Linked DNA regions of Homo sapiens: all the other regions are linked to region 1. The links are contacts of gene promoters, found by promoter capture Hi-C in human tissues and cell types (Jung and others, 2019). All regions are on one chromosome and are shown on one strand. The core of a region is centred on a gene start or on the middle of the fragment in contact, and the rest is flanking DNA. Distances in the headings are between cores, read along the strand shown. Region 1 holds the start of OLFML2A (olfactomedin like 2A). Region 2 has its middle 5.0 kb from the start of PBX3-DT. Region 3 overlaps GAPVD1 (GTPase activating protein and VPS9 domains 1).

Region 1 (2,806 bases), core at 133-2,632:
CCCAGCCTCCCGAGTAGCTGGGATTATAGGCATGCACCACCACATCAGCCTAATTTTTGTATTTTTAGTAGAGGCGAGTTTTCACCATGTTGCCCAGGCTGGGAGAGTTTGCATTTTTAACAAGTTATCCGATGATGCGGAGGCTGAGACCAAGGACCACACTTTGAGAACCACTGAGTTCAATGTTCATGGGGAGAAACTAAGAATGTGCCCTAGGAAGTCATGCTCCAACACAAGGAAACAAACACACCAACAAGAAAGACAGTCCCATTGAGCAATAAATTCTATGAAGAAAATGAGACCAAGCATGGTGGCTCACACTTGTAATCCCAACACTTTGAGAGACTAGGGTGGCTGGATTGCTTGAGCCCGGGAGTTTGAGAGCCTGGGCAACACAGAAGACCCCATCCCTAAAATAAATACAGAAATTAGCCAGCATGGTGGCACATGCCTGTAGTCCAAGTTATTCAGAAGGCTGAGGGAGGAGGATAGCTTGAGCTGGAAAGTTGACGATACAGTGAGCTGTATTCGCAACACAGCACTCCAGCCTGGGTGACAAAGGAAGACCCAGTCAAAAAAAAAAAAGGAAATGCTGGGTGCAGTGGCTCATGCCTGTAATCTCAACACTTTCGGAGGCCAAGGTGGGAGGATTGCTTGAGCCCAGAAGTTCAAGACCAGTCTAGGCAACAGAGTGAGACCCCGTCTCTGCAAAAAAAAAAAAAACTTTAAATTAGCCAGGTGTAGTGGTGCACACCTGTAGTTTCAGCTACTCAGGAGGCTGAGGTGGGAGGATCACTTGAGCTGGGAAGGTCAAGGCTGTAGTGAGCTGGGATCGCACCACTGCACTACGGCCTGGGCAACAGAGTGAGAAAAATAAAAATTTAAAAGCCGGAAGCTACTGGAGTTTGGGAGCCGACAGGAGGGATTCCAGAGGGAAGGAGAAATGAAAGACGGAAGACAGGTTGGGGTTGCTGAGCCTTGGGAAGGCTTACAGCAGTCAGGTCCCTGTCCAGAAGTGGGTGAAATCGGAGAGCGCAAGGGCTCACGTGCCCTGGGAACATCCGTCTCTCATGCGAACTTTACAAACACTCCAAAAGGAAAGCACGAGTCCCCCATCTTACAGATGAGGAAACTGAGGCACACAGGTGAAGGGACACGCCCAAGGTCCCACGACTCACAGGACAGGACCTGAGTCCGTGAGAGGAGCCCACGCGCCTCGCCCTGGCCCCGTTGCTCCTGCCGGCTGCGATCGAGACCCACCCTGGCGCGCGGGCAGGGATGCCCTTGGGAGAGCCGCCCGACGACGGGGAGGCCCCGCGAACGGCGGGCGGGGCGGGGCGGGGTGCCCCCTCCGCCCTAGCTCCGCCCCTGGCGGCGCTGGAAGACCCGCGGGGCTGGCAGCAGGGTGCAGGCGCGGGGCGCGGGGCAGGCAGAGCGGGCGAAGGCGCGGAGCTCGCAGTGCAGCCCGCGCTTCCCAGCGTCCGTGCCCGGCCGCCTGTGCCTACCGTGCCCGTGGCGCCATGGCCGCTGCCGCCCTCCCGCCCCGGCCGCTGCTCCTTCTGCCGCTAGTGCTGCTGCTGAGCGGCCGCCCCACGCGCGCCGACAGTAAGGTACGCACGCCCCTCGGACCCGCGCGGCTCGGCGGGTAGCGGGGCGCGAGGGGGCGCTGTGGCTGGGGTGCGGCCCGGGAGGGAGCCCGGGGCCAGGGCGGAGGAGCCGGGAGCTGAGAGACCGAACCTGGGACTTCTCAGCACTGAAGCCGCAGGGGCAGGGGCCCCGAGAGAGGGGCGCGTGGAGGAACAAGCGCTGGAGATGTAGGGATGCTAGGGACCCGGGGCCTGAGGAAGGGGCGCTGGGACCGGGTCCGATTCCCGGAGGGGTCGGGGGATTTCCCCGGAGTGCTGGCCAGACTCGGGGTTCGTAGGGGAAGCTCCTGGCAACTGTTACCCAACGACTCCCAGGCTTGCAGCAAGCCCTGGGCCACGGCTTTCACGGCCCGCTGGGGACTGGGGGTCTTCTCTACCCGATGAACGCAGCCGCGCTGGCCACTCGCCTGGCCTCTGATGTTCTTGCCAGGGACCGGGTGCACCCCCTGGAGGACTAGGTAGCTCCAGAAGTGGTCTGAGCTGTTCTCTGCTGTGGCTAAGAGGATCTGCTCTGGTGTCAAGCCGACCTGGGTTCAGTCGCACATCCGCTTCTCATCCGCCATCGCCCATCTGAGCCTCCGTCTATTCACCTGTAGATACAGGGAGAATCATGGGACCCACTTCCTGCAGTTGATGGTCTCTAGATGCGGTGTGGTCATGCCTGTAAAGTACTTAGCACTAGGCCGGGCGCGGTGGCTCACGCCTGTAATCCCAGCACTTTGGGAGGCCGAGACGGGCGGATCACAAGGTCAGGAGATCGAGACCATCCTGGCTAACACGGTGAAACCCCGTCTCTACTAAAAATACAAAAAAAAGTAGCCAGGCATGGTGGTGGGCGCCTGTAGTCCCAGCTACTCCGGAAGCTGAGGTAGGAGAATGGCGTGAACCCGGGAGGCGGAGCTTGCAGTGAGCCGAGATCGCGCCACTGCACTCCAGCCTGGGCGACAGAGCGAGACTCCGTGTCAAAAAAAAAAAGAAAAAAAAAAAATACTTAGCACCAGAGCACTTGGGGTGTTCTGGAAATGACTCCCTGATGGCCAGGTTCAGTGGCTCACACCTGTAATCCTAGCACTTTGGGAGGCCAAGGCAGGTGGATCGCTTGAGGCCAGGAGTTCAGGACCAGCCTGGCCAATATGGTGAAACCCCATCTCTACTAAAAA
Region 2 (2,806 bases), core at 169-2,668, 960 kb after region 1:
CATTGGCCTTATGACTGAACTCAATCTCCAGCTCCCTCAAAGCCCCAACACTCTAATCACATGGTTGGTCTTTCTGGTGACCAGCCACCATCCTGAGTCATCACTTTAGCATAAAATTAGATGTGATCTAAGGGCCTCATGAATAATAAAAACACTCTTATAGCTTGGGAGATTTCAAGGGTTTTAGATGTTACCTCCCAGGAATCCAATACAAAGACGAGAGGAATTTTTTTTTTTATCATACATCATCTCCCCCACTCTAGGAGCTCCTACTATGTGTCGGGCATTGTGCTAGGCTATTCCATCCATCCATCCATCAGTCCATCCATCCATCCATCCATCCATCCATCCATCCATCCACACATACATCTGTCATATAAGTGTTTATAGTGCTATATCAGCTTTTCTGCAAGATACAGAAAACCCAGCCAATAGGATTTTAAAACAGGAGATGAATTTACTCACAAAACTAGAAATCCAAGGGAAAGCAGTTGCTTCTTTGGCTCAGATGTTGGACCATGTCTGCAGACACCTAGGCTCTCCTTATCTTTCTACCCCACTTACCATGTTTATTTTTGTTTTGAATGAATGTTTTATTTTATTTACTTATTTTTTTTTTTTTTGAGACAGAGTCTCGCTCTGTCACCCAGGCTGGAGTGCAGTGGCTCAGTCTCGGCTCACTGCAAGCTCCACCTCCCAGGTCGACGTCATTCTCCTGCCTCAGCCTCCCGAGTAGCTGGGACTACAGCCGGCTGCCACCATGCCTGGCTAATTTTTTTGTATTTTTAGTAGAGACGGGGTTTCACCGTGTTAGCCAGGATGGTCTCGATCTCCTGACCTCGTGATTCACCCGCCTCAGCCTCCCAAAGTGCTGGGATTACAGGCGTGAGCCACCGCTCCTGGCCCTGAATGTTTTTTTTTAAAGTATTTACAGATAAAAATTAGAAGGTGGTGGGGCCGGATGCGGTGGCTCATGCCTGTAATCCCAGCACTTTGGGAGGCCGAGGTGGGTGGATCATGAGGTCAGGAGATCGAGACCATCCTGGCTAACACGGTGAAACCCTACCTCTACTGAAAATACAAAAAATTAGCCAGGCGTGGTGGTGGGTGCCTGTAGTCCCAGCTACTCCGGAGGCTGAGGCAGGAGAATGGCGTGGATCCAGGAGGTGGAGCTTGCAGTGAGCCGAGATTGCGCCACTGCACTCCAGCCTGGGCGACAGAGCGAGACTCCGTCTCAAAAAAAAAAAAAAAAGAAAAAAAAATTTAGAAGGTGGTACAGAGAGTTCCCTAATATCCCATACACTATTTCCTCTATTATTAACATCTCACATTAATATGGTACTTTTTGAAATTAATGAACCAATGTGAAATGTTATCACTAACTGAAGTGTATACTTTATTCAAATTTCCATAGTTTTTTTTTTTTTTCTTGAGACGGAGTCTCGCTCTGTTGCCCAGGCTGGAGTGCAGCGGCGCCATCTGGGCTCACTGCAAGCTCTGCCTTCTGGGTTCACGCCATTCTCCTGCCTCAGCCTCCCGAGTAGCTGGGACTACAGGCGCCAGCCACCACGCCCGGCTAATTTTTTTAAAAAATTTTTTTAGTAGAGACGGGGTTTCACTGTATTAGCCAGGATGGTCTCGATCTCCTGACCTCATGATCCGCCTGTCTCGGCCTCCCAAAGTGCTGAGATTACAGGCGTGAGCCACCGCGCCTGGCCAAATTTCCATAGTTTTTACCTAATATCCCTTTTCTGTTCCAGGATCCCATCCAGAATGCTAGATTACATCCAGTCCTCATTTCTCCTTAGGCTCTTCTTGGTTGTGACAGTTTTTCAACTTTTCTTACTCTTTATGACCTTGACAGTTACAAGGAGTACAAAGACCAGAGAAATTACTGGCCAGGTATTTTGTAGAATGTCCTTCAATTAGTATTTGTGTAATATTTTTCTAATTATTGGTCTGGGATTACAAGCTTTGGGAGGAAGACCACAGATATAAACCACCAAACCATGTTGATTTTGTCTTCATATTTTCATTTCACTATCACAGGTGGCTGCTATGAGCACTCCAGATTCAGGACTACTTTCAAAGATGGAAAGAGCCAGGAAAATGAAGGAGAGAAGAGCCATGTCTGTCCCCTTTTTTTTCTTTTTCTGAGACAGGGTCTCGTTCTTTGCCCAGGCTGGAGTGCAGTGGCCAAATTGCTGGGATTACAGGCATGAGCCAGCACGCCTGGCCTATCTGTCCCTTTTTTAAAAAATTAGCAAGGTCACCCCTCCTCCTGACAGGCTCAGAAGGCAGGGGACAGGATGCTCATACTTGTTTTAGACCTTGATTGGGACTGAGCACATTGTCTTCAGAATAAAATCAGGCTTCTATTGGTGTAGAAGGAAGTAAGCCAATGGATGGCAGGCCAACAACTGGTCATGTCGGCCCCAACTGTCTATTCTGTATGAAACTGCACCGTACTGGGTGCTATGAAGGGACATAAGAGAGGGAGCATTCTACCAAATTTTTCTAGAAATTATACATTCTGATAAATATTCTCTTTTAAAGGCATCACTTTAGAAGGATGGACTGTTATCCCACTAAATCTTTGGTAACTCAATCAAATCCATCCTTAGAAGATAAACGTTGGTCATATGTCACATGTGCTATCAACTGTAAAGACCAATTCTAAAGAGTCATTCCTGTCTGGGTGCAGTGGCTCATGCCTGTAATCCCAGTACTTCGAGATGCTGAGGTGGGATGATCCCTTGAGGCCAGGAGTTTGAACGCAGCCTGAGCACCATAGCGAGACCTCATC
Region 3 (2,806 bases), core at 81-2,580, 550 kb after region 1:
AGAGGAATTTGGTGGTTTTTTTTTTTTTTTTGAGACAAAGTCCCAAAATGACACGGCCATTTTTATTTTTGAGACAGGGTCTCACTCACATTGACCAGGTTGGAGGGCAATGGCATGACCTCGGCTCACTGCAGTCTCTGCACCCCCTGCAACCTCTGCCTCCCGGGTTCTTGTGCCTCAGCTTCCCAAGTAGCTGAGACTACCGGTGCACGCCACCATACCTGGCTAATTTTTGTATTTTCAGTAGAGACGGGGTTTCGCCATGTTGGCCAGGCTGGTGTTGAACTCCTGGCCTCAAGTGATCTGCCTGCCTCAGCCTCCCAAAGTGCTGGGATTACAGGTGTGAGCCACCGCGCCCAGCCAGGAGATTTTGTTAGCTAGTGTTTGGCTTTTCTCCACTATCACTGCACTTTCCTCCAGGATCTTTGTTAACCCTTTGCTTCCCACTGGTTATACAGGTGCTGCAGCAGAGAACATGTTAGGCAGTTTGCTGTGCCTCCCAGGTTCAGGGTCAGTGCTTCTTGACCCCTGCACTGGTTCTACCATATCAGAGACAACAAGTGAAGCTTGGAGTGTAGAGGTATTGCCAAGTGACTCAGGTTAGTATGCTGTCATTGTTTGCTTTTTCATTTATACAGAAGTTTTAATTAAATGCAAGGTATCCCAACTCTGTATTATGTATATTTTGTCAAATACACTTTTTTTTTTTTTTTAATGGAGATGGAGTCTTGCTCTTTTACCCAGGCTGGAGTGCTGTGGCGCGATCCCAACTTACTGCAACCTCTGCCTCCTGGGTTCAAGCAGTCTTCTCGCCTCAGCCTCCTGAGTAGCTGGGATTACAGACATGCCCCACCATGCCGGGTAATTTTTGTATTTTTAGAGAAACAGGGTTTCACCATGTTGGCCAGGCTGGTCTTGAACTACTGACCTCAGGTGATCTGCCCACCTTGGCCTCCCGAAGTGCTGGAATTACAGGCATGAGCCATCATGCCCAGCCAGTTATACATTTGACAAAGATGAGGTGATCACATTGCTAAGAATGTCAAATGGAAAATTAGTTTAGGGCATTTTCTGTCCATTAAGGGAAAATGCTCTGTTAGATAGCATAGACTGTGATGGCAGGTGCTTTCAGACTCTGTGTTGAGTTATTTTGAAAGCAATTTTCTGTGATTATCAGAGTCCGTGTGAATCATTGAATTTAGTATCTTCCACAAACTCATGACAGGATAAGAGTAGCAACACAGTTCAAACTGAGTGCTTGCTTGGTAAACACATTTAGATTTATCACAGGGGAGAACTTGACTCTCTAAAACATGCTTAATGTGTTTTTGAAATACGTTGAAATTGAGATTCTGTAATCCTGAGGATTTTTTTTTTGTGCAGGTTATTATAAATGTATATAAAGTGTTTTGTACTTTGTCTTTTCATATGCATTGCATTTTTTTCTGATTATGAAGACGCATCTTTGCTTTCAACTAAATGTCAACTACCAGAATGTAAATATAAGTAACTGTGTATCTGCATTACATTCTGTTGATTTACTTGGTTCAAGAATTATTAAGTGATCCTGATATGTGTTTTATAATTTTTTTTTTTTTTGAGATGGAGTCTCACTCTGTCACCCAGGCTGGAGTGCAGTGGTGCAATCACGGCTCAGTGCAATCTCTGCCTCCTGGGTTCAAGTGATTCTTTTGCCTCAGCCTCCCAAGTAGCTGGGATTACAGGCACCTGCCACCACGCCTAGCTAGTTTTTGTATTTTTAGTAGAGATGGGATTTCACCGTGTTGGGCATGCTGGTCTCGAACTCCTGACCTCAGGTGATCTGCCGGCCTCGACCTCCCAAAGTGCTGGGATTACAGGTGTGAGCTACCACGGCTGGCCTGTTTTATAATGTTAAAGCATTCAGATATGCTAGCCTTGTTTGAAGACCAGTTGGGGACAATAGGATTAGCTTACCAGCTGTTGAGTATTCATAGGAGTTACTTTTTAGGAAGTGGTTGATTTAATACCAGGCTATTCCATACTCTCTTGTCCAGTTCACATGTTAATCAATAGCATACTCTGTGACATTAGTGATCTAGAACCACGTTTTCATCTGTGCACAGTGAACTGGCTTATATTGGGATGAAAATCACAACTTTGACTTAACACTTAATCTAACTAGCATTAACTAGTCCAGACTTACACATGTATTTGCACTGATTTTATTCATGCCCTGGTAGCTTTGTTTATCTGGGTCACAAAAGCTGAAATTGTGGTGTGCTAAGAGAATCACAAATGTAACATACCTCTTATCTTCTATTTAGAGGCCCCAGACCTAAAGCAGGAGGAGCGTCTGCAAGAACTGGAGAGCTGTTCTGGACTGGGTAGCACATCTGATGATACGGATGTCAGGGAGGTCAGTTCCCGCCCCAGCACACCAGGCCTCAGTGTTGTGTCCGGTATGTCTGTCTTGTTTTAAGGAGTAGGGATTTGAAGGTGTTCACCCCCTACCCCCTCCTATTTATAAAGTTGATACAAAAAGATATGTTATATTTAAGAGCTGAGTAATTTCCAGAAAACAAACTTATTTCCATTGCACCTGAAATCTTTGAGAACTTAATGTGTGGCCTTATGGAGCCTGTTGAAGTAATTGGCAAACAGTCTCTCTACAACTGTTTCTGTTCTTAGTAGCCTGTCCTACTTTAGAATTGTACGATTCTGATTATGTTGTGTAAAGCAAGGTAAGTATATTTAAGCAGTAGTACCATAAAGGATATAATACTAAACTCACATGTATAGAACTGGGACACAAAATTCGAGAATG

Evidence for each region. Contacts are between HindIII fragments. The study calls those that stand out against the background at their distance.
Region 2: a contact is called between a fragment that was not itself captured here and the fragment with the promoter of OLFML2A in region 1, in 1 of the 25 tissues and cell types used here (dorsolateral prefrontal cortex).
Region 3: a contact is called between a fragment that was not itself captured here and the fragment with the promoter of OLFML2A in region 1, in 1 of the 25 tissues and cell types used here (lymphoblastoid cells).

The regions. Positions count from the first base shown.
Region 1 is chr9:124,775,751-124,778,556 of GRCh38, forward strand. It overlaps OLFML2A (olfactomedin like 2A), which reads left to right and starts at 1,383. Exons shown (of 8, transcript NM_182487.4): 1 at 1,383-1,610. The coding sequence starts at 1,521. RefSeq lists silencers at 1,287-1,386, 1,457-1,756. The HindIII fragment of the contact is 24,652 bases long and covers 1-2,806 here.
Region 2 is chr9:125,739,551-125,742,356 of GRCh38, forward strand. No RefSeq gene overlaps it. Among named protein-coding and RNA genes, the nearest start is that of PBX3-DT, 5.0 kb to the right of the region's middle. The HindIII fragment of the contact is 6,270 bases long and covers 1-2,806 here.
Region 3 is chr9:125,329,620-125,332,425 of GRCh38, forward strand. It overlaps GAPVD1 (GTPase activating protein and VPS9 domains 1), which reads left to right. Exons shown (of 28, transcript NM_001282680.3): 13 at 459-599; 14 at 2,307-2,441. Among named protein-coding and RNA genes, the nearest start is that of GAPVD1, 69 kb to the left of the region's middle. The HindIII fragment of the contact is 9,933 bases long and covers 1-2,806 here.